Regions from separate parts of the Homo sapiens genome. Here all the other regions are linked to region 1. The links are contacts of gene promoters, found by promoter capture Hi-C in blood cells and fetal thymus (Javierre and others, 2016). All regions are on one chromosome and are shown on one strand. The core of a region is centred on a gene start or on the middle of the fragment in contact, and the rest is flanking DNA. Distances in the headings are between cores, read along the strand shown.

What was found. Contacts are between HindIII fragments. The CHiCAGO score rates a contact against its expected background, and 5 or more counts as called.
Region 2: a fragment that was not itself captured here is called in contact with the fragment with the promoter of RAB28 in region 1 in 8 of 17 cell types (naive CD8 T cells, total CD4 T cells, activated CD4 T cells and 5 more); the score reaches 12.6 in naive CD8 T cells.
Region 3: a fragment that was not itself captured here is called in contact with the fragment with the promoter of RAB28 in region 1 in 1 of 17 cell types (fetal thymus); the score reaches 6.1 in fetal thymus.
Region 4: a contact is called between a fragment that was not itself captured here and the fragment with the promoter of RAB28 in region 1, in 3 of 17 cell types (total CD4 T cells, total CD8 T cells and activated CD4 T cells). The highest score is 9.7, in total CD4 T cells.
Region 5: a fragment that was not itself captured here is called in contact with the fragment with the promoter of RAB28 in region 1 in 1 of 17 cell types (naive CD8 T cells); the score reaches 8.6 in naive CD8 T cells.
Region 6: a fragment that was not itself captured here is called in contact with the fragment with the promoter of RAB28 in region 1 in 8 of 17 cell types (non-activated CD4 T cells, naive CD4 T cells, fetal thymus and 5 more); the score reaches 15.9 in non-activated CD4 T cells.
Region 7: a fragment that was not itself captured here is called in contact with the fragment with the promoter of RAB28 in region 1 in 7 of 17 cell types (total CD4 T cells, total CD8 T cells, non-activated CD4 T cells and 4 more); the score reaches 21.1 in total CD4 T cells.

What each region holds. Positions count from the first base shown.
Region 1 is chr4:13,482,570-13,486,072 of GRCh38, reverse strand. RAB28 (RAB28, member RAS oncogene family) reads left to right here and starts at 1,733. Exons shown (of 7, transcript NM_001017979.3): 1 at 1,733-1,997. The coding sequence starts at 1,923. LOC105374495 (a long non-coding RNA gene) reads right to left here and starts at 1,624. Exons shown (of 3, transcript XR_925413.1): 1 at 1,119-1,624. RefSeq lists silencers at 1,272-1,331, 1,294-1,588, 1,582-2,201 and enhancers at 1,472-1,591, 851-1,758, 1,554-1,848. The HindIII fragment of the contact is 2,971 bases long and covers 1-2,498 here.
Region 2 is chr4:17,586,233-17,589,684 of GRCh38, reverse strand. It overlaps LAP3 (leucine aminopeptidase 3), which reads right to left. Exons shown (of 13, transcript NM_015907.3): 7 at 708-866. It overlaps MED28-DT (MED28 divergent transcript), which reads left to right. Exons shown (of 3, transcript NR_186331.1): 3 at 2,006-3,443. Among named protein-coding and RNA genes, the nearest start is that of LAP3, 11 kb to the right of the region's middle. The HindIII fragment of the contact is 8,649 bases long and covers 1-3,452 here.
Region 3 is chr4:9,602,327-9,605,566 of GRCh38, reverse strand. No RefSeq gene overlaps it. Among named protein-coding and RNA genes, the nearest start is that of MIR548I2, 48 kb to the right of the region's middle. RefSeq lists an enhancer at 2,891-3,240. The HindIII fragment of the contact is 726 bases long and covers 1,402-2,127 here.
Region 4 is chr4:17,564,617-17,567,885 of GRCh38, reverse strand. No RefSeq gene overlaps it. Among named protein-coding and RNA genes, the nearest start is that of LAP3, 11 kb to the left of the region's middle. The HindIII fragment of the contact is 2,955 bases long and covers 157-3,111 here.
Region 5 is chr4:17,825,458-17,829,145 of GRCh38, reverse strand. NCAPG (non-SMC condensin I complex subunit G) reads right to left here. Exons shown (of 21, transcript NM_022346.5): 11 at 3,585-3,688; 12 at 758-868. Among named protein-coding and RNA genes, the nearest start is that of NCAPG, 16 kb to the right of the region's middle. The HindIII fragment of the contact is 1,304 bases long and covers 1,771-3,074 here.
Region 6 is chr4:17,617,600-17,621,109 of GRCh38, reverse strand. It overlaps MED28 (mediator complex subunit 28), which reads right to left. Exons shown (of 4, transcript NM_025205.5): 2 at 1,143-1,209. Among named protein-coding and RNA genes, the nearest start is that of MED28, 4.7 kb to the right of the region's middle. The HindIII fragment of the contact is 5,213 bases long and covers 1-3,510 here.
Region 7 is chr4:18,026,383-18,029,671 of GRCh38, reverse strand. No RefSeq gene overlaps it. Among named protein-coding and RNA genes, the nearest start is that of LCORL, 6.3 kb to the right of the region's middle. The HindIII fragment of the contact is 7,330 bases long and covers 1-3,289 here.

The DNA.
Region 1 (3,503 bases), core at 484-2,983:
AACAAGTACATATCCTCTTTCTTCTAATTCTTATGAATAAATCTGGTGAATAGAAAATTGGTGGTGGCAATGGTGGTGCGGGATTGGGGAAAGAATTGGGTACTAATACTTAACTGGGTACCTATAATTGTGGGCCAGCCCTCTCTGCAGATGAAGAGACTGAGGCTCTACATAAGAAACTTGTATAAGGTAAATTGGCTAGAAAGTAGTGACACTTCCAACACGGACCATCATCTAATTATGATGATGATGAGGGTGATAGTTACACTGGTTAATATTGAGTGCTTACTACACACCAGGCATTGTGCTATCTACTTTATGCCGATTATTTCATTTAATTTTCAAACCTACACAAAGGCAGTAGTCTGTTCTACAGGTGAACTAACTGAGGCTCGAGGACACATATCTAGTAAACATGAGATTAAACTCCAGTGATGCCTCTAGGTCTGGGCATTTCTTTACACTGTTCTGCTTTCCTGTTCTAATGCCCATATGGTCTCCAAGACTACTGCCTCTGGGCTAAGCATTTTGTTAACTTAAGATACTTCATCTGCAAAATGGGGATAATTATACTTCATAATTCCTAATAGTAGTAAAGGTAACAATAAATTTTAAGTGATTAACAATGAAACAACCATAGCAGGACAGCATTATTATTTTTGAATTTACCTCACTAAATTGTAAATTTCATTTATGCCGTTTACCTAACGCTCCTGGACTGAGATTATCCAGGGCAGCAGTTCTTAAATTTTTTGGACTCAGGGCCTCTCTATAATGTTAAAGAATTACTGTGACCTCCAAAGAGCTTATGTTTATGTGGGTTACACCTATCACTACTGCATTGAAATGAAAACTGAGAAATGTTTAAAAACAACAAACGCAAGCTCCCTTAGCTGCCAGTGATGACGTCGTACACAAAGCGTATCCTCCAGGAAACGGTATACTAGTGAGAGAAGGAACGTGAGAAAGACAGACAAGGTGTCCGTATTATTATGAAAATTGTTCTGAGGTCATCGGGATTTCCAGAGGTCCCTAGACCACACTTTATGAGAACTGCTGCCTTAGGGTAAAGATGGGGTGCCAGGAGGTTGGCGATCAGTAGCGTCTGATGAACGAACCATGGGAGCCTGGGGTTGTTCAGATGAGGAAACCAAGAGTTAGGCCGAAATAAGCAGCGCCGGAGCTCCACTGTATTCACGGCCGCTACTGAGGCTTCCCAGCAGCCTCGGCCCTTAGCAGCTGTCCCCTCATCCGCCCCGAGGTACCCTCTTCCCTGGTCCGGTTTTTCAGGGGCCCTCTCTGGCGCTCTCCGCCAGGCTACGGGCGTCCCGGGTGCCCGGAGACAGGCCCCGCCCCGCCGCCGGTCCTCGAACTCCTGGCTGCCAGGCAACCCTGGCGCGTAGCCCGGGCGTCACTGCTCCACCCCGTCAGGCTGAACCATTCCCTTCAGAGACTTTCTCAAGAGGGAAGGAGAAAAGGGAATTTGATGGAACGCCTGAAAGCTGCTCTGCTCCCGTTTTCTCTCCTTAATTTGAACGAACACTTCTTTTCTTCTTCTAGCCAACTGTCTCCTGAAGGGAAACGCAGCGCCTCGCCTCTCCCGCCGGAATGTCCCCCACACCAGTCCAGGGCCGCGAGTGGTTCGGCTCGTCAGGCGGGGCCGCCGGTCGGCGCGGGTTGGCTCTGAGGCGGGGGCGCGCGCCCGACGTGCGCGTAGGGGGCGGGGCCGCGCGCAGAGGGCGGGGAGGTGGGCAAGATGGCGCTTGCCGAGTGATTCTCCTCGAATACCTCCTGCCGGCGCGGAGACACCGGGGCGGGGGTCCTGCCGCAACTACCTCCCTTCCTCCTCTCCCCCGCCCCCGGAGCCTTCATCCTTCCCTTCCCCCCCCACCTCGAGGGGCGGGCCTGGTTCCCGGGACACCATGTCGGACTCTGAGGAGGAGAGCCAGGACCGGCAACTGAAAATCGTCGTGCTGGGGGACGGCGCCTCCGGGAAGGTCAGTCCTCGAGCAGGCCCGCCGTCCCAGGCCTGCAGGAACCCCGGCGGTCCCCGGCCTCCTCCCCGCCGCCCGGCGTCGCCTCGTTACCCCGAGCCCTCGGGCTTCTAGGCCCGGGCCCTTCTGGTTGTGTGGCCTGAGGCCGGACACGAAGTGGGCGCTTGGTGAAGGCCGACGAGAGCTGTCCAGCTCCCCCTTAAAAAAGAGTCACTTCCTAACTCCCCGCCTGGATTGCGAACTCCTGCAAGACTCGGGCCAGCCTTTCAGCTTCCCGCCTCTCAGGACTGGCAGGGATTTGCCAAGGCATCTTAGCTCCTCTTACTTGTAGTCTGGGTCACACTTACTCCTCCCCTCCCACCCCCTTTACCGTTTCTGATGCTTCTACTGCATCGTGAGCTCCCAGGAGCGTAGCTCTGGAATCAGTATTCCCCGGGTGAGAATTGGGGCTCTGCCACTTAGTCGTCGGGTCATTGGAGGGCAAATTGCTAATCAGTTTAAGCTTCATCTGTAAGATGGGTATTGAAAAGGGCCGCCGCAAAGGGAGAAATGTGAAAATACATATTAAATGTGAAAATACACATAAAACCTTTAGAGCACAGTGTCCACTCAGTACACTCTAGTTGCTATTTTAATATCATACCTGTTCATCACCTCTGTTTCCAGCTCAGCACTCGATACAAGCAGTCAGTCAACAAGTGTTTATGGAGCTCCTGTTACGGGTAGGATGCTGAGGGTAGAGCTGCTTGCGTGACAAAAGGGATCCCCTGTTCGAATGAATGAATGCGGGCGTGAGAATATCAGGCAGCGTCAGTCTTATTATCTCCTAGGCAGGGGCTCCTACCCCAAGGCTGTGGAACTCCTGAAATGGAGTAAATACTGCCCGGTACGTGCTCTGGGGAGAGGGTCCATAAGATCTCAGAGGGGTCTATGATCCCTCCACCAGCAAATAGTGAAGAGCCTCTACCCGGATGCCTTCTTTCCCATGCTTCTGTCAAAGGCGCCAACACTTTCTGGGAATATTGCTAAAGTTTATCACCCCTGTACTCCCCTTCCTTATCCCAACCATAGTCTAAAGAAACCCAGGCTTTTATTTCCTGTTTAAGGCTTCACATTTCCCTGTTGCTGGTTGCATTTCGGACCCTGGTTTCTCTGGTGACGACTTCTCTTTGCATCCTCCCTGACAGTTGGCACTGCCCAGATACCTGCTTCTGCCTTTGGTTCTGACATTTGAGTTTCGAGGTCACCTGGGAAAGATGTAAAATTTTATATGCAAAATTTGAAGTATTTTTTTGTTTCTTTCTTGTCTTCTTGGATCCTTTGTTACAGATTTTTAAAGCTGAGGAAAACAATATGCTCTGATTACCTTTAAACGTTGGGGGAAGAAAGGAACTTGGGGTAACTTTTCTTTATAAAGTATATTAATTTTTGTATACTTAGTAAACTTTTCGAATGAATGAATTGCTATAAATAAATCATTGTTTCTAACACCTTTATTCAATAAAAAGT
Region 2 (3,452 bases), core at 952-3,451, 4.1 Mb before region 1:
AGTTTAAGACCAGTTTGGGCAACACAGTGAAAACTCATCTCTATATTTTTTTTAAAAAAAGGACACGACACACCTGAGTTTGACTTCGGACTCCACTTACTAGTTATAGGACTTTGAACAAATTATTTAAACTCTGAGTCATGGTTTCTTTACCTGGAGAATGTCTACAATACCTAGCCCACAGGGGTATGGTTAGGGCTAACACATGCAAAATACCTGATAGTCTCTGACATATTCTAAGCATTTTAGAGGTGGTAGCATAATAAATTTAAAGTAATGTATACCTTCAACCAAACACCATGCTTTTGTATCAAACTATAAACCGGCCAGGCACAGTGGCTCATGTCTGTAATCCCAGCATTTTGGGAGGCTGAGGTGGGCGGATCACTTGAGGCCAAGAGTTCAAAACCAGCCTGGCCAACACGGCAAAACCCCATCTCCACTAAAAATGCAAAAATTAGCTGGGTGTGGTGGTGCACGCCTGTAATCCCAGCTACTTGGGAGGCTGAGGCACAAGGATTGCTTGAGCCTGGGAGGCAGAGGCTGCAGTGAGCCGAGATCACGCCACTGCACTCTAGCCTGGGTGACAGGGTGAGACTCTGCCTCAAAAAAAAAAAAAAATCAAACCAAAAAACCCTATAACCAAGTAATTAAACTGCACACAAATAATTCACCAAAATACAAAGCACGGACACCATAAAAAATACCTGTCAAAGGTAATTCCTTTCCCAACAAACACCAGGGGTGGTTCGTTTGCATTGGGGCTGCCTTTGTAGTGAATTTCCAAGAAGACTGGGGGCTCGTCAGATCCTTTGGCCACACTGAGGAATGATCCCATTGCCTGTTCCTCAATCCAAGACTTGGGTCTATAGGGTAGAAAGAGGGAAAAAGTAAATATACTGTTACCTTTATTTCAAAATAACAGAAAAAGCTCATCACAGTGTGTGAAAAAGTATAATATACAAACTCTTAAAGTATACGCACATTAAGGTTTCAATTATCAGGTCCCATTATTTGCTTTCTGTATATTCTTGGGCAAGTCACTTGATTCTAAGCCTATTTCCTCATCTATAAAATGAGGTCTGTAATTCTTCCATCAAAAGATTATTGAATTACTAAGAGAAGTCATGTGTGGTACCTAATACAATGTCAACTAATAGTCTACAGTCTATATAATTAATTTCCTCTCTCCAATCTACTCAGATATTTCTACAATTTTAATTTAAAGATGAAGTTAGAAGGCCGGGTGCGGTGGCTCATGCCTGTAATCCCAGCACTTTGGAAGGCTGAGGTGAGAGAATTGCTTCAGCTCAGGAGTTTGAAACCAGCCTGGGCAAAAAAGTGAAACTGTCTCTAAAACAAATAAGGTAAGATATAATAAAGATGAAATTAGAGGCCAATGAAGGAGGATCACTTGAGGATAGAAATTTGAGACCAGCCTAGGCAACAAGTTGAGACTTGGTCTCTACAGAAAAAAAAAAAAGAAAAAATTAGCCAGGCATGTTGGTGCCTGCCTATTGTCCTAGCTACTGCAGAGGCTAAGACAAGAGGCTCGCTTGAGCCCTAGAGGTCAAGGCTGCAGTGAGCCACGATCTCGCCACAGCACCCAACCTGGGCAACATAGCAACACCCTGTCTCTTAAAAAAATAAAATTAGCAATAGGCTCTGAGACCACAAAGAGTGCTTAAAGATAGGTAAGGGGTCCATTGCTTTATTTCTAAAAATGAAAAAAAAAAAAAATCAACCAACAGACAGCAAACCAAAGCTATATCCCAATGACTGGAAAAAAAATATCCTATTTATTTGCTTTTTAAGAACTGTTGAATTCTATCTTTTTAATGTTGTCACACACTGTTTCTCACAGTTTCAACTGTTGCTTGAGGCATCTTTAAGTGAGAAAACTAGTTAGTTCTTACTTAATAAACATGGGATCGGTGGGGTAACAGAATGGAAACAGTCCTTAGTTCAAACTAGAAAACTGATGCCATATTGCTCTTCTTTCTAGGCTAGGAGCACAAAAGGGCTTTGTATTGATTTCTGGCCACGGTAACTAGGCCAAGAAAGAAATTCTATCCTCCTGCAGACCAGCAACAACCACAGCCAAGGAATGCTCCTCCGGCATTTGCCATCCACTTGTTAAAATGATTAAACTAGGACTGCATCATGGTGGGATGACCAGCACACTTCAAAGGGAAAAAAATTTTAAATCGGAAGATGAAACAGTTTTAAAAATCACTTCAAAAAAAAAAAAAAAACAACAACAACAAGGCTGTGCAATGTGGGCATTTTAAATCATTAACTCAGTACTTGATGTCTGATTAAAGTCCTGCCCTTGTGGAAGAACTGCCTGTGTTTCTCTGATATACACTGACCTACAATGGAGAGTGCTTAGCGCGGCTATGTCTCAGTTTAACGAGTCATACCCCACCCATGCGTCCTGCCTGGTCTCTGCTGAACTCTTTTCCCTTTGCTCGGCTACAAGTTTTGCAGCTTCCTCACCTGAACTGTCCTGCCCCACTCTCTTGTACTGTAACTTCTAAGCAACCTGCAGGACTCTCCTTAGGCTCCAGTCTTTTTTTGAGACACAGTGTCTCTCTGTCGCCCAGGCTGGAGTGCAGCGGTGCGATCTCAGCTCACTGCAACCTCCATCTCCCAGATTCAAGCAATTCTTGTGCCTCAGCTTCCCGAGTAGCTGGGATCACAGGCACGCACCACCACTCCCAGCTAAGTTTTGTACTTTTAGTAGAGATGGTGTTTCGCCATGTTGGCCAGGCTGGTCTTGAATTCCTGACCTCAAGTGATCCACCTGCCTCAGCCTCCCAAAGTGCTGGGATTACAGTCATGAGCCACCATGCCTGGCCTAGACTCCATATTCTTATTAAAATTTTTATTTTAGAGATGGGTCTTGCTATGTTCCCTAGGCTGGCCTTGAACTTCTGGACTTGACAGACCCTCCTGCCTGCCTCTTGAGTAGCTGCAAATAGAGGTGTGCACAATCGCACCAGCAGCTTCATATTCTTTGGCAGTCCCCCTCATCCCTCTGATCCTGCAGTACCCTCTGCAAATGCCATTTACCTCCCTATTCCTTCTTACAACATCCTCACTTTCTGCAAGGACAAGGACCACTTCATGCATCTTTGTATGATAAATTCCAGGCACACCAGAGGGGCTGTCATAACCACTATTTGGTGACCAAAAAGATACTTTTATAGAACCTAAACATTGCTATAGATTAAACATATACTAACCATTCCAGAAATTTTATCAAGCTCTAAGTACTGTGCTTTCTACAGACTATTAATTTTTCTTCACTCTGTCTAAACCATAGATGCTTTCCTGAAAAACACGAACTCTAATCACAATTAAGTACTAAAGAATTCTTTTAAATGGAAGTACCCTTGGGAAACAACTTTGACAATAAAGAATTCTTTAGGTCAAACAAATACCTGTTC
Region 3 (3,240 bases), core at 515-3,014, 3.9 Mb after region 1:
TTTTGATGTGGGAGTGATTAAGCAGGAATGCCGTCTACTTTCAGAGCAGTTGGAGTCATGAAGTCTTTTCTAAGCAGGAGTGAGTCTTTCTTTTTGGAACTTTTAAACAAACACTAGGTCTCCTGGCTGGAACGAATGGTAGGACTTTGTCAGGTCAGGAATTGGATTGGGATGGGCTCCTCAAACAAGTGGCAGGATGATCTCTTGTACCTGTTGGAGAGACTATAGGTACTGTAATAAATTAATTTGTGATATTTCTGCTAATTTGGCATCTCTTAGCTTAGACAAGATAGGCAGCGCCTTCTTATACATGATTTCAAAGGGTGAGAACTTAGCCTGATAAGGGGTGCACTTTACTTTAAGTAGGGCTAAAGGAAGGAGACTTACTTAATTTACACTGGTTTTTAAGATCAATATTGTAAGAGTGTTTTTAATGTGTGGTTCATGCGTTCTACTTGCCTGGAGCTCTGAGGTTGATAGGCACAATGGAGTTTCTATTGAATGTTTAACGCCTTACTGACTGACTGAGCTATAGGTGAGGTGAAGGCTGCTCTATTATCAGACTTTATGGCAGCAGGCAGCCTATATTGAGGGATGATTTCATTGAGTAAAAACTTAACTACTGTGTTGGTGGTTTCGTTTTCGGTAGCAAATGCCTTAGTCGATCTGGAGAAGGTGTCTACTAGTACTAGAAGGTATTTGTCCTTAACCTGGTATGGTTTGACTTCTGTAAAGTCAATTTCTTACTTTTTTCTTGACGAGTTTTTTCAGAGACAGTGGCCTGGGCTGGGTTTAGGACTTTGTTTGGCTTTTACGTGGGCGCAGGTTGTGCACTTGAGAGCTGCTTAATCTGTTAGGCTTTGAAGACGGGGGATCTTAAAATGGCTCCGGAGGAGCTGAGGTAGCTTTGCTCTTTTTAAGTGGGTGGTAGACTGTAGGTGGCTGATTAAAGTTTCTTTAAGAGTTCAGGGTGTGAAGATTCTAGAGTCAGGAAGAATCTACTAACTTTCCTGATTTGTATTGGCTCTGAGATCTGAAGCCAGTTTTTTTGTTGTTGTTGAGTATACGGGATTGTCAGGCAGATCTGGCTGTGGAAAGGAGACTGTGGGCAGCAAGTTTAGAGGCGTGACTGAAAGTCTTGCTGCGACCTGAGCTGCTGAATCAGCTTTCTGGTTACTATGGGCTACGGCCGTGTTTTCTTTTTGATGTCCTTTGCAGTGGATCACAGCTAGCTGCTGAGGTGAGTAGCCTGCTTTCCTGGTAGATGGCTTTATGTACATGCACAGTAGCAAAGGCGTACTTGCTGTCAGTGTAAATGTTAATACGTTTACTCTTTATCGGAGAGCCTGAGTGAGGGCGATCAATTCAGCCTTTTGTGCTGAGGTGTTCGCTGGTAAAGCTTGAGCTTACAACACATCTGTCTCCATGGTAACAACTGCACTGGCTTTTCCTACTTCCTGCTTGAGGAAGCTGCTACTTCTGTGAACACGGCGGCATCTGCCTTTTCTAGGGGCACAGCTTGAAGATCAGATTGGCCAGTTTCGATAGTTTCTAACAGTTCTTGACAGTCATGAGCAGGAATAGTGCAGTCTGAGTCGGGAAGTAGTGTAGCTGGATTGAAACACTTTGTGGGAGAGAAAGTCAAACGAGGCTGATCTAACAGTAAACTTTGATACTGTAAGATGCGAGCATTTGACATCTATTTGCCAGAAGCACTTCGTAGTAAGGTCTTTATGGCTTGAAGAGCTGTAAGGGTTAAATTTTGGCTTACAGTTAACTTACCATCTTCTTGGACTAGGCTTGCTGTAGCCGCTATGGCTCGCAGACAACTTGGCCATCTAGAGGCCACAGGATCTAGCCTCTTAGATAAATAGGCCACTGGGCGTCTTTAGGGTCTTAGAGTCTGAGTAAACACGTCTTTAGCAACTCCTTGGCTTTTATGGAGATATTAGGGAGGGCTAAAGCAGGGGCTTCAGTTAATGCTAAATTAACGGGCTATTTCATTCTGTACTTCTTGGATAGCCGCCACTAAGATTTTTGTTTGTCTTTTGAATGCTTTATCAGCGGCCTTTTCAGCTGCCTGTGTTGCTTGTTTTTGTTTTTTTAACCTTGTGATTGTCAAAAGCTTTTTGGGCTATTTCTAAAAGCTGACAGATATTTATTCTAGCAAATCTTTCTAGTTTTTGGAGTTTCTTTTTAATATCCGGGGCTGCCTGAGCCACAAATGCTAAATTAAGAGCACGGCTATTTTCTAGAGCTGCCGGATCAAAAGGGGTGTAAATCCGATAAGCCTCCTGGAGGCGCTCTAAAAACGTTCTTGGTGACTTATCGGGCCTTTGGACAACTTCGGTCATCTTAGACAAGTTTATGGGTTTCTGAGCGGCTCTTTTAATACTCGCGAGGAGATACCGGTGAAAATCGTCTGAAGCTCTCTTTCTACTTGAGGAATTTGGGTACCAGTTGGGCCGGGTAGACGGAAAGACCTCCTCAAGGAGGTCTCTAGCTTCTTCTTCCAGTCTATTGGCTGATGTGAGGAAGTACTTTTTGGCTTCTTTTCGGATACGTTCTTTCTTTTCAGAGGTGAAAAGGGTTAAAAGGAGCTGTTGACAATCATCTTACGTGGGCGGGTGAGTCCGGAGTACGGACTCTATCAGAGAGGTCAAAGCCTGGGGCTTTTCAGAGAAGGGAGGATTATGGGTTTTCTAATTATATAAGACAGAAGAAGAAAAAGGGTCATAAACTAAGAAGGGGGCTGAGCGCTCGTCACCTGGAGGGACTTGTGACTCTCTCAGTGGTAGTAGAGGGGCTACTTCTTCCTGCCGCGGTCGCGATTGAGAGGCAATGGGTGGCGAGCCTACAGGGGACGTCCCCGAGGAGACATGGGATAACATTAAGGGAGCAGGATGGTTGTAAGGCAGTGGGACTGGGTGAGGGAGACTCTCCTCTTCTTCAGAGGGAGGCAGTACGGGGGAAGCCGAACCGGCTGAGGATCGAGGCAAAAACGCGGTCTGGCTCAGGCGGAACTTGGAGGTAGAATTATGAATGGCGCATGAGCGGAGCCATGGAGGGGGCTCCTGACCAAACTTAGCTATTGATCAATGTAGGGAAACTGATCAGGGTAGCTAGGATTTTTAGTAACAACCTGCCACACAGCTTGTGAGGTTCAATGACCCTTCAGGGGGCCACTTGACTTTACACTTTGGCCATTTTATTTTGCAGAGTGTCTGGAGCTTGCCTTTT
Region 4 (3,269 bases), core at 385-2,884, 4.1 Mb before region 1:
GCGGGAGAATGGTGTGAACCTGGGAGGCAGAGCTTGCAGTGAGCTGAGATGGCGCCACTGCACTCCAGCCTGGGTGACAGAGCGAGACTCCGTCTCAAAAAAAAAAGAAAAAAGAAAAGAAAAAGAAAAAGAAATTCTTAAACAGAGGCTTAAGCTTATTGGCTGGAAGAGACAGCCAAAGATGATACCGTGGCTCCACAAAGTTATCAGAGGCTCGGGCTTCTTTCTCTCTGCTCTACCATATTTAGTGTTGAGCAAGTGGCACTATTGCCTATGTGAAAGTAGATAATTCAAACTTAAAGCTGTTTGAATTTTAAATTATTCTGAGCCTTGAGAGGAATGTGGCTATGTGGCCTTAGTCACATGGCATTTAGCTGCATCTTCTGCATTTTTTTCCCTGTAAGTAATTAGGAAGAACAAGCGGGACCAGAGAGAAGACACCCTCAGATCATTATCATTCCTAAGGGGTTAACACAGTAATCTTTCTTGCCATGTAGCAATCTGTAACCAAATCACTGTAACAAATCATTGTAGCAAATCATTATAACATATGTGCTGGTCTTGTATCAAAAATGTAATCCTGCTGAAACTTCTCTGTCTGCCTATGTAAGTGAAACCTTAACTTCTCCACTTTGGAATGCTGACCCTATTCGTTTGGAGTCTGTGTTTCCCAGGTGGCTATCCTCAAGATTTGCATTCAAATAAGCTCTATATTCAGTCATATTTTCTGAATCTCATTATCTACGGTTGACACCTATTATCAGGAGCAGAAGTTCAAGTGCAGTCAAGAATGGGACGGAACAATGATTTACTCACATACAGAAGAGACAGAGCAGAAGCAGTTTCAATAGTCAGAGTTGGTCTCCCATGGCCAATGGGTCCCCCTGCAGCAGACACAGGGCAATTGGCCTCCTTGCACCTCTCTTGTGCTGTAGCAGCATGACCCTTTGACACACACCCCTGCCCCGACTACCTACACCCACCCCCACCACCACAGAGTCTGAAACACTGAGAGCTGGGGAGCGTGTCTGAAGGTCGTTGATGCACACACTGAACACCTTGAGCCTGAAACAGGGAAAGGTTTTCCCGCACAAAGCAACAAGCCTGGCCCAGGCTGTGTGGGCTCTTAGTAAAGACATGTTCCGGGCCCATGGCCAATTCTTATGTGGCCATGTCCACGGAGGAGGGGGTATAAAAAGACTTCATACCTGAGTCTTCCTTTCCCAACGGTCCACCCCTGACCCTCACTTAGCCACTGAAACAGCAGATAAAGCACATCAAATCCAGTAGGATCATTGCCCACCCTAAATCTAGAGGGAGAAATGGGTTTAGTGGTGTGAACCACTGATATGGATGCAGTCTGTTTGTAGAGACTCCTTGTCATTTCGAGGCAGCCCTTCATCAGGGTGACTAGGAGAACCAGACCCATAGGACGATCAGTCCTTGGAGGATGGTCCTCAACCAGGAGCCCCCAAGGGCCAGGATTGAGTGTGCTAAAGAGGTGAAAGAATGAGTCTTGGTGGCACTGCGTGTGCATAGCTGACCAGCACCCCGCTTCAGCAGGAATCTTCTCTAGCTCACTTTCTACCTTGCCTAAATTATTGATTTATACCCAGCAAGAGGTGTTGGCAGTCATGCAAATGCCATCCCATTTTGCCAGCAGATAATTGAGAACTTTCGTTGTCCATCACCACCTTGGCTAGTGAGTTTAATGCATCCCGCTGGTCCTTAATAGCACAGGCAGTAGCATTCGCTATCTCCACACAGTCAATGACAAGATGTGTATCATCTTTATCCAGGACCTGTGTGCCTATACTGTGTATGAGGACATGGGCAGCAGAGTGGAACCAGGCATGTTTGTTTTCCTGGCAAATTGACTCAGGCAACCCTGTGATGTGCCAGAAGTATGTGGCCCTTCCAATTTGGAGTGTCATCTTGCACAAACACTGAAGGACCCCAAATTCTCAAACAACATTCCCCATCTAAGGAGGACAGGCACTCTGCAAGCTACTACACCCCACAGAGGAATATGTAACCCAAGAGAGCACATATTTAACTCTGGCCAAGAAGCAGTTTTTCTAAGAGTCTCTAGTCCAATTGTACAAAATGTGTGTCTGGTTTAACCATGGTTCAGGTGGCAGGATACCACTGGATTGTGGCCAGGCTGGCAGACAGGTTCACCCTAAGGGTGTGGATGGTGCAGCGATGCTGAGTGAGGTTTCCTGGGTTCATGCTACCAGGAGCTAGCCAAGAACTGGATTCCCATGGTAGGCATGTAGGGGTGCCGTGGGCATGGTGGGGCTGCTGTAGGTCTGACTGGCAACTGATTCTGGACTGGGTGCATTATGTTAATGACAAGTTTAAGGAGGGTGATTAATTAAAGCAACCCTCCACAAACCCGTCTGATGTCTGGTGGTGTGGCTCCCACTGATGGCCACTGGGACCCCTGTCACATTTGCAATAGGCCACATGTGAACTATTAATCTGGAGGGATAGGCTCACAATACTCAAGCAGAAGACCTGGCAACGCTTCCAGTCTTTCACTGCTGCTACTGCTGGGATGATCTTCGCTGATACGTTCTCAATCCATGTACTGTGAAGAAACAAGAGGAGGAAAGATCTGGAACAGACTAAGCCCTCAGGATGGACACCAAGAAAAGTCACACTGCAACTTAGGACTTTTCATGTTTCTGAAAACAGCTGGGATGTTTTAGTGAGCATAGAATTAAACCTAACTCTGAAATCTATTTTTAAAAAAGAAAGTCAGGTAGGGTGTGGTGGCTCATGCCTGTAATTCCAGCACTTTGGGAGGCCGAGGCAGGCAGATCACTTGAGGTCAGGAGTTCAAGACCAGCCTGGCAAACATGGTGAAACCCCTGTCTCTACTAAAAATACAAAAATTAGCTGGGCAATGTGGTGTGTGCCTGTAATCCCAGCTCCTTGGGAGGCTGAGGCACGAGAACCGCTTGAACCCGGGAGGCAGAGGTGGCAGCGAGCTGAGATTGTGCCACTGCACTCCAGCTTGGGCGACAGAGTGAAACTGTGTTTCAAAAAATAAAAAAATAAAAATAAAGTCCACCTCTTATTTTATACCTATGGTTAAGGTAAGCTTCGTTCATGGGGTATATTATGTATTCTGTGTATCTGAACCCAGACTGAGGGTGGCACTGTCTGATCAGAACCCACTGATGGCCACTGGGACCCCTGTCACATTTGCAATAGGCCACATGTGAACTATTAATCTGGAGGAATAGGCTCACAATACTCAA
Region 5 (3,688 bases), core at 1,173-3,672, 4.3 Mb before region 1:
TACTGAACACCTGAAATGTGACTAGTCCAGTTTAAGATGCGCTATAAGACTTAGTATGCAAAACAGAATGTAAAACATTGCAACAGTTTTAATAGTGAGTAAATAATGAAATGATTAATATTTTGGATATATTGGACATATCCAAATAATACAGTTGGATATATTCAATATACTAAAATTATCCTCTTTTTTTTTTTTAAAACAGTGGCTTTAAAAAAAAGCCACTTTTTTTAATGTGGCTACTAAAAAATGTAAAGTTACATATGGTTTGCACTATATTCCTTATCAGAAAGTAATGTTCTAGAGTCTTACAGTACTTGTGTCCCTATGGGAATTACCTACAAAGGGTTATTTTAAAAGCCCTTTAAATATAATAAATAAATTCCTTTCCCAGGGCATAAAATGTGATTGTCTCAGTCTCATTACGTAGCACAATTCCAGTACTTAAATATTCTTGGTATGTTTCAGTATCTCCTCTCTTACTATTCAAAAAATGAAGATATTCTGTATCTCTTTCCAGTATAAAATCATTTTTTAAAATATGTAAAAGACTGTAATTTACATATCAGGTCCTTTACAGACATCTTATTTAATCCTCACAATATGAAGTAGCTGCTATATATATATATTTTATCATTTATACTTATCAGATATTTAAGACAGTAATCTTTTCATTATTTTGATTTCTAAAGAACATATCACTTACAAAATAAGAAAGGAGTGGACTAAAATAAAGCCCAAGAGGCCATCAACATACCAAAGATTCGATGATTCCATTCATGGTTGCACTTAAGCCTGTTGAAATGGACATCTGCTTCAACAGTTCATAGCATAAAATAAGACATTTCTGCAATGTTTCAGCATCATTCTAAAATGAAGACAAAATATTCAGCATTAGTAATATCTTCTCCCCATCCTTTAAATGTTTGCTTTCTCAGGGCTTTGTGTAGGGCATACTGTCACTCTATATAGACTCTGTAGGTGATCTTACAGCTATCACACAGATAGTAAATGGTAGAGGCAGGATTTTAAAATTGGCAACTTCAGCCAGGCGCAACGACTCACGCCTGTAATCCTAGCACTTTGGGGGGCCAAGGCAGGTAAATCACTTAAGGTCAGGAATTTAGGACCAGCCTGGTCAACATGGCAAAACTTCATCTCTACTAAAAACACAAAAATTAGTGTGGTGGTGCACACCTGTGGTCCCAGCTACTTGGGAGGCCGAGGCACGAGAATGGCTTGAACACGGGAGGTGGAGGTTGCAGTGAGCTGAGATCATGCCACTGCACTCCAGCCTGGGCAACAGAGGGAGACGTTGTCTCAAAAAAAAAAAAAAAAAAGTCTAATCTTCATCTTGCCTAATTATCACCTCAAAAAAAAAAAAACCTGACAACCTCGTTTATCATCTATGAGCTAGCCCAGCTATTTTCTAAGTTTCAGATTCATATATATAACTGCTAAAAGACATTTCCTCTTGATGTTCCACAGTTTCCTCAAACTCAACATGTCCAAAAGGGAACTCATCATTACACAAATCTCTCCTCTTCCTTGTTCTCTATCTTCATACTGTCATCACCATCTACCCAGTTGTCTAAACCAAAAGACTTAAGATACATTCCTGACTCCCTTTTCTCCGTTACTAATTTCTAAATACCTCTCAAGTTCATCACTACTTTCCAAATCCACTGTCATTATCTTGTTCAGACTACCATCATCTGTAAGTCTCCCAACCCTACTGTAAGTCTCCCAACTATTATGCCTGTCTAAGCTTTTACTACTCTCCAATCCATTTCCTAAACAACAGTGATCTGAGACATAAGACTTACCTAACCACTTAAAATACTAGTGGTTCACCACAATCCTTAGAATACAAAATTTTTAATATTGCTTACGCAAAGCCTTACATGACCTAGCCCTTAATTTTTCCCCAGATTTTTCTCCTGCTTCTCCCCATCAATTCTCTAGTCACATGGACCTGAAGTTTTAAAACATAATAGGCATTCTTTAACTTCTGGACCATCACAGATGTTGCTCCATCTGTCTACAACATTCCTTCCATAATTCATTGAGGAGAGACAGCACAGAGTGAGTTAAAAGCACAAGTCTAGAGCCACTTCTTGGGTTTAAATCCTGCCTCCACCATTTACTATCTGTGTGATTTTGGGCAAGTTACTTGCCCTTTGTAAAATGAAGATAATAATAGTACCAACCTCATAGGCCTATAGGAAGAAAAGAATGAATTCACATTTGTGAAGTAATTAATGCTGTGACTACCACAGAAAAAGTATCCTCTGACTGTTAGATTATATTGTTATTTTTATTCTAATCTCAGGATAAAACATGTCTTCCTCTGGGGAAGCCAACAATACTCTACCAGCACTAGAAACCTCTCCATAAAACCTCTATACTTCCCTGACCATAGCATTTATTATGCTCTGTTGTAGTTGCATTTTAACAGATTTGTAGCCCTCGAACAGGACAAATAGACACATAAATGGTCAAAGCAAGTCAAGTTAAACAGACGATATTAACCATGATAGACTACTTTTGCTAATTTTATAATTTTGACCTAAAGTTTGTCATTTTTCAGATGATATTTTCAGTTTTTGCTTTAAATTTGCTTTCCAAATTTAATAGCCTATAATGGCCCACAGACTTCGTCAAATAAAAGAAGCCACCAGCTATCAAAATAAAATTCAGGCATACACTCTGGGAAGGTGGGTGTTGGAGTTGGGATGTCTATGGCTAAAGAGATCAGAAACATAACTCATGAAACTCTCCTATATAAAAGAGTCTCCTATTTAGCATTCTTTTTATGAGAATAATCAGCACATCCCAAAAGTACAACAATAAATGATGTTCATTACAAAAGGCAAGATCCCAAAAGAAATTAAAGTTAATATCAAATATTAATTGATACCTATCTTATGTTTACATATTTATCATTTGTTGTAAGACAGAATGGTATCGATACCATTAACAAAAAATTTCTTTCAGAAGGAAAGACATACTCCATTTAAGAGAGTACTTTAACAAACTAATTTTTTAAAAAACGAACTACTGAAAAGCAAGCTTTAAATGTTACTAGACATATTTCAGTATTTCATTAAAAATAACAAAGCTGCGTAGCTTTTTCTAAAAACACAAAAGTAATTTAGCTTTAAAAAAATGCACGTTACCATAGAAATTATTTTGCTAGCAATAAAAAAGAAAGGTCATTGATCCTCCACAAATAAGAGGAAAATGGATGTATTTTCCTTTTTTAAACCATTCAAGACAAAAAACAGAAAACTCAGATGTGAACCACTGGAAAGCTAGCTTCCCTGGTAAGAAAGACTTCGGATTCTAGAGATTAGCATGACAAGGAAGCAAATAAAGTCCTACCTCCAATAATTAAAGTTAATTAAGGCCTTTCAAAGTCCAAAAATAGAAACAGGGAAAAACTTTTTTCATTTTAATTCATGTCACTATTACAAAGTGCTCAAAGTAAATATATTTTGGCAATTCTAGAAGTTAGAGAAAATAAGATTTAGTTGAGATGATTAATAACACCTGAGATTTAGTATGAAAAAAGTTACCTGTACCTTCTCTATGTGGACTTCTTTAATTTCAAGTTGCTCTGTCTCTTTCAAAAGGTTTATTCTGGCATCTTCTAATGCTTTTATTTCTTCTTTTAATTCTGATGCCC
Region 6 (3,510 bases), core at 270-2,769, 4.1 Mb before region 1:
CAGGGAGTGAGAGGTTGCAGTGAGCCGAGATCGCGCCACTGCACTCCAGACTGGTGACAGAGTGAGACTCCGTCTCAAAAAAAAAAAAAAACACAAGGCAGAGGCCAAGCGTGGTGGCTCACGCCTGTAATCCCAGCACTTTGGGAGGCTGAGGCAGTAAGACTGCTTGAGCCTAGGAGTTCAAGACCAGCCTGGGCAATACAGCAAGATCCCATCTCCACAAAAAAATAAAAAAACAAAAATTAGCCAAATGTGGTGGCTCACACTGTGGTCCCAGCTACTGGGGGGCTGAAATGGGAGGACTGCTTCAGCCCAGGAGGCAGAGGTTGCAGTGAGCAGAGATCATGCCACTGCACTCCTTTCTTAAAAGGGTGAGAGAGCAAGAACTCTGTCTCCAAAAAAAAAAAAAAAAAAAAAGAGACAATGCAGAGATCCAGCAATCAGCATCATAATTTACAGTTAAAATGGCACATATAAGGCCGGGCACGGTGGCTCACGCCTGTAATCCCGATACTTTGGGAGGCTGAGACAGATGGATCACCAGAGATCAGGAGTTCGACACCAGCCTGGCCAACATGGCGAAACCCCGTCTCTACTAAAAATATAAAATTAGCTGAGTATGGTAGTGCATGCCTGTAGTTCCATCTACGCGGGAGGCTGAGACAAGAGAACTGCCTGAACCCATGAGGTGGTGGTTGCAGTGAGCACTCCAGCCTGGGCGACAAGAGTGAAACTCCATCAAAAAAAAAAAAAAACATGTAAAATATGGTACGAAGAAATCAGAAGCTCTGGTTACCTTTAGGGACAGAACTTGGGGAATAAAAAGAAGCACAAGAGACTTTTCTCTGTAAGACCTATTCCAAAAATAATAAAATTTTTTTAAAAAGCAGTACACACTATTGGTCTTCTTCTTTACCTAGTACGAATACGAAAAGTTCATTATAAATGATTCGTTATGGGTGATATGTCAATTAATAAACTGAACCAAAAATCAGCAGCTCATAGAGATTATGTGCACACATTTTAGTCCCTGAAATGTTGTCTTAGGATAAAAGCAGGACTGAAACACATGAAGTATAAAATTAGCAACTAGGAAATACTGCTGAAGCCCAGAACATTGTGTACACAGAGGGAATGCTTACCGGTTCGAATTTCTTCCTGATCGGTGCCATTGACATAGTCCTGACTCACCAGAGATGCAAAGCAAGCCTGTGTAATCAAAACATAGGAAAGAAAAAAATATCATTTATACATCAAAAATCTTACTCCAGAGGAAGAAATAACTTCTCCTGAAGTCATCTGATGAGGTGGCAGCATCTGTGTTTGCATATGAGATGGCAAGACACCATGCCAATGGAAACATCTGGTAAACTGAGTTTACCAATTAATTAGGCCCATGGAGGAAGCGCCAGGCAAACGAGCCGGCACCACATCTGGTCTCTGTCCTACTACATGCCCCTTCCCTGTATCTTATTCCACACCAGGCCCAGACACTCTTCCAGCCCCACTGTGGCCTCTTGCTGGTGCTTACACAACTCACATCACCACCCATTCAGGACTCAGGACAATCTTCTCCCCCTCAGAGACAGCAGCCGGTCTACCCTTTCTAAACTGTGCCCCTCCTGCTCATGCTCCACACCCAAGCACAGTTTTATTGTTTTTCACATAATTAACTGACATCATATCCATTATTTTCATCCATTATTATCTGTCCCCTACTAGTAGATGAGAATTTTGTCTGTCTTATTCACCACTGTCCTCCTAGTGCCTGGAACACTGCCTTGGCACAAGGGAAGTGTTTAATAACACATATTACTGACTGGATGGCCTAAGAGGACAAGGTTGGTATCACATGGATAATCAAGTCCCAGAGAGAGTTATCTCTAAAGGGCACCTATACAGATGCAAATGTGAATCAGCCAAGGAGCTCTGTGCACAAGCAACTCTAAGGAAATGTACCAAAGCAGGCCCACTGCAGGAAGTGGGCAGGGAGATTGGGGAGGCACAGAAAGAGAACAGCATGGCAGTTGGAAAAGGAGTTAGAAAAGAAGCCTCAAACACAGGAAAGTGGAGCTCTGTCAGCAATCAGCAAACTACACTTGGTGTGAGGCAGACAGATCTGAGCTCAAATTTAGAACATTACCTACATGTGAGGGCCCTTTAACGAGCAAAAATTCTGCCTGCCTGCAGCTCCCGCGCTTGATTTACAGAGAAAGTAAATCAGAAAAACAGATTGCCCATTCTCAGGATTACTTTGAACATTGACTCCTGGCTGGGCACGGTGGCTCACGCCTGTAATCCCAACACTTTTGGGAGGCCCACGCAGGCAGATCACGAAGTCAGGATCCTAACTAGGAAGGCAGATCCACGAAGTCACCATCCTAACTAACACGGTGAAGCCCCATCTCTAATAAAAATACAAAAAATTAGCTGGGCATGGTGGCACGTGCCTGTAGTCCCAGCTACTCGGGAGGCTGAGGCAGGAGAATTGCTTGAACCTGGGAGGCAGAGGTTGCAGTGAGCCAAGACTGCACCACTGCACTCCAGCCTGGGTGACAGGGCGAGAATCTGTCTCAAAAAAAACGAAAGTTGACTCTTGTTGGGTTTGGGATGTGGGTAGGATGTACTTCCTTTGTGAGACCTATGGCTACTGGAAAACATCCCATTAATAGGCCAACCAGTCACAAACTGGCCAAAAAAGTTGGGCCAGCTCCCCTGAGCCAGGAGGCCTACCAGACAGGGTGGCAGGAAATCTCATCTCAAGAATTTTACTGCCCTCCACCCACTCAAGAAAAAAATTTAGGGTCCGACATGGTGGCTGACGCCTGTAAGCAACAATTTTGGAGGCCAAGATGGGTGGATCACTTCAGTCCAGGAGTTCAAGACCAGCATGGGCAACGTGGTGAAACCCTGTCTCTACAAAAACAAAAATTAGTCAGGCGTAGTGGTGCGCACCTGTAGTCCCAGCCACTTGGAAGGCTGAGGCAAGAGGACCACTTGAGCCCAGGAAGTGGAGGTTGCAGTGACCCAACATCGTGCCATTGCACTCTGGCCTGGGTGACAGAGTGAGACTCTGTCTCAAAAAAAAAAAAAAAAGAAAAGAAAAGAAAAAAAAAAGATACACAGGCCTTTATAGACAGTTGGACAGCTGTATTAAGAAGAAAATGTGTGGTAGCTTAGAAAGAGAACATATATTTTTTTTTTGAGATGGAGTCTCACTCTATTGCCCAGGCTAGAGTCAGTGGCACGATCTTGGCTCAATGCAACCTCTGCCTCCCGGGTTTCAGCGATTCTCCTGCCTCAGCCTCCCAAGTAGCTGGGATTAAGGCGTGTGCCACCAGAGACCACTAATTTTTGTATTTTTAGTTAGAGATGGGGTTTCACCATGTTGCCCAGGATGGTCTCGAACTCGTGACCTCAAGTGATCCAGCCACCTTGGCCTCCCAAAGTGCTGGGATTACAGGCGTGAGCCACCGCATCTGCCTAGAAAGAGAACAGCTTTTTAAAAGC
Region 7 (3,289 bases), core at 740-3,239, 4.5 Mb before region 1:
CATGCTAGTAAGTAAAATGATATGCTTTGTTCATATAAGTGTTATGACTTAGTTTGTATCAGGCGTTTCAACATGCAGAAAGGCCAAATGATATTAATTTCTTGGTTTGAAATATAACCTCTGTAAAATGAAATTGTGTGACCACCTTTTGTCACTGTCCTGACATTGGGTGAAAAATAAGTTTGGGTTTACCAGTAGAACTTGAGAATAAGGGTAGATCATGGGTGAAGGAAGCCCTATAATCTTCCATGTTTCTTTCTTTAAAAAATCTCAATTAATTACTCTTTTATTTCAATTCAACAAAAGTCTCTTTGATACCAACTAGGTGTAGAATGCAAGTATACAGAGGTGGTGAATACCAGGCTCTGACTTCACAGTCTACAAGGTTATAGAGAGAAACAATAAGAAATAGTCACAGATAATTATATTACATGAAAAAATGCGGTAAGACTCATGAGAAAAATGAAGTGTTCTAAGAGCATAGAAAGCAGTAATAATCACCACTCAGTTGAGAAGTGTTCTTTATGGGAGTAGAATCGCATGGAATATCAGATGGGGACAGCAAAAACCCCAGTTTGGCTGAATGATAGGTTAAATATTGAGAGACCATAATTTTGTGTGCTACTGAAAATGTCACTATCTATCTTCCCCCAAAGATAGTGACATTATCAGTAGCCACTCCTGAAAATCAGAAAAAAATCCAGCTTCCTCAATTTCTGACTCCTTAATAGGCAGCTTTTCACCTTCTTTCCTGTTCTCCAGTGAAAAGCAGTAGTTAAATTTGGAAAGACAAAGATTAAAATTCTAGTTTCATCAGCAACTAGCTAGATGATGCTAACTTGTTTAAGTTATTTAACATCTCTAAGTCAATTTATATTTCTTTCTCTCTGATATGGGGATAATAATAATGAGAGTACTTAATTGCATAAGATTATGGTAAAAGGTAAATGAATTAATAATGTGTATAAATGCCAAACCACTGATAGCTCTTATTATAGGAAAAAGAGTCAACATTAGGAATCAAGAAATTGATCTTTAGTTTGGATGTGCTACTAATAAGCCCTGTGACTTACATAAATTGCTCATCCTCTCTGGGCCCAATTTCCCTATCTGCAAAATTAGGGGGTTGACCTAGATGATCTGTATTCCCTCTAAACTCTGATAGTCTAGGTACTATAGATGACATTCTTATTTTACTTTGATACTGAACTGTGCAATTGGATTAAATTGGATAAAATTGCCTTCATTGAGCCTTTAATACATTGAAATTTTATTAAAAGGCTGAAAATGAAAGTGACAATAATGCGTTAGGCCAGGGAAGTGATTTCAAGTGGACACAGAAAGAATAGTGGTAGATCAGGTCCTATCATCATGTCTGGATGTAAGAGAAAGTAGATGGTAAATGGTATTAAATTCAGGTGCCAAGCTCAAAGGTGTATGATTTTATGTAAAAAAAAATCAGAAAACATACTCATGCTAATTTTGGTATTAATTATCCTGACAGTTTAGGGCCTGAGTTGTCCTAATATAGTAAAACTTATGTCCAACTATGTGATATTTACTATAAAGACAGTAACAGGATGTAACAGTAATATTTTTAAAGTATCCAGTGATTGAACTCAACAAAGAAAGTAAAGAACAAAAATCTGAGATGCCACTCTGATATGAGTGACAGAATTGGACCAGCTATCATGCCCATTATTATGTATACTAAGGAGTCTTAGAATAGGAAAAAAGGAGACATTATAATCTAAGAAATGAAGTACATTATCACTATATTTCTGTTTTTTCAATCATTATTCCTGTTGTAAAATTTTATCTTTGTTCCTACAAAATGTACAAAAAGTGTTGATAGTATTTGGAAATGCATCAAGAAGACAAAATCATCATATATTTTAGATATCTCTAACTATTTAACTGCAGTATTGAAAATAAATACATTAACATGTATGTATTTCAGTTAATGATGTCTTTAGAGTCTATACTTCCATAAGGGAGAAGACTATTGAGAAATCTTTGACTCATGAGCCTGGATGAATCTAAGATGTTTGCATAAAGTTTAGTATAATATGACTATGTAGTTAATTAGAAATTTTTTGGAAGGGAAGTTTGTTCTATGTCCTAAATAATTGGTTTATCAAATTTTTCTCTGATGTTTTAATCTTAGATCGGTGAACTGTATTACAGGTCAGAACCAAAGGAAATACAGTAAAATGCGATTCTTTACAAGACAGATATAATTTACTCAAAAGATAGTTTCTCAGCATTATAAAGCATTGTACAGTTAATTAAGGTATCTAGTAGTTACGCTTTACAACTGTAAATATCTAATGCATACAAAATTGTTTAGATTTTATTAAATTATAAAATATATCGTTTTTTGGTACATACGGATAATATAGAATTGAGTAGGTATTTTACAATCCTACTAGTATATTGGATTGTTTATATTTGTTACAAAATATAAGAATAGCTTTAATTTTGGGTTAATATCTCAAAAATATGACTCTAGTCATACCCCTCTGTAATTTTGTATTTCTCTATCATGGAAATGTATTTCAAACTACTCCAATGTATTAGTATTTGTTATATCATGTCCTCCTAAAAAGCACCCTAGCTTGCAATTGACTAAGTGGTAAATAAATTAATAAACTGTTATTTGGCCCTGCAATTTATATGTCTTGGTGCTGTCTAAGAACTCTGTAGATGTGCTCATCAGTTTTAGGTGGATAATAGTGAACTTGGATAGTTATTTATGGTAGTTTGAAGTGATGACTCAGATTTGTTCACACCTTTCTGAATCCATGCCATTCGTTAGTGTCCTTATATTCAGACTTTGGGCTTGACCATGAGATTTGCTTTGGCCAATAGGATAGTAGCAAGCAGAACATGATGCAAGCTGACTTGAAAAGCACTTCTACATTAGTACTTATCATTATGTTGCGCTTCACATGCTGCTACTACATAAATTATTGGCTCTAGCTAGTCTCTAGATGGTAAGAGACACATGACTCAGTCATTCTCATTACCCCAGCAAACTGGGAGCCAAACTACACACCAAGAGTGAGGCCATTCTAGATCACGCAGCTTCCAGGACTAGCAATCTCAGGTAAGATGTGCAGAGCTTCACCTGATCAGCAGAACAGCCCACCTGACCTGCAGACTTGTGAATATTATCTACTGGTTGTTCTTTATGCAACTACCCTACGGATTGGCTTGCTGCACAGCAATAAATAACTGGTACAACATATATAGGAAGTAGATAGTAGAACAAAATTATTTTTCCAAA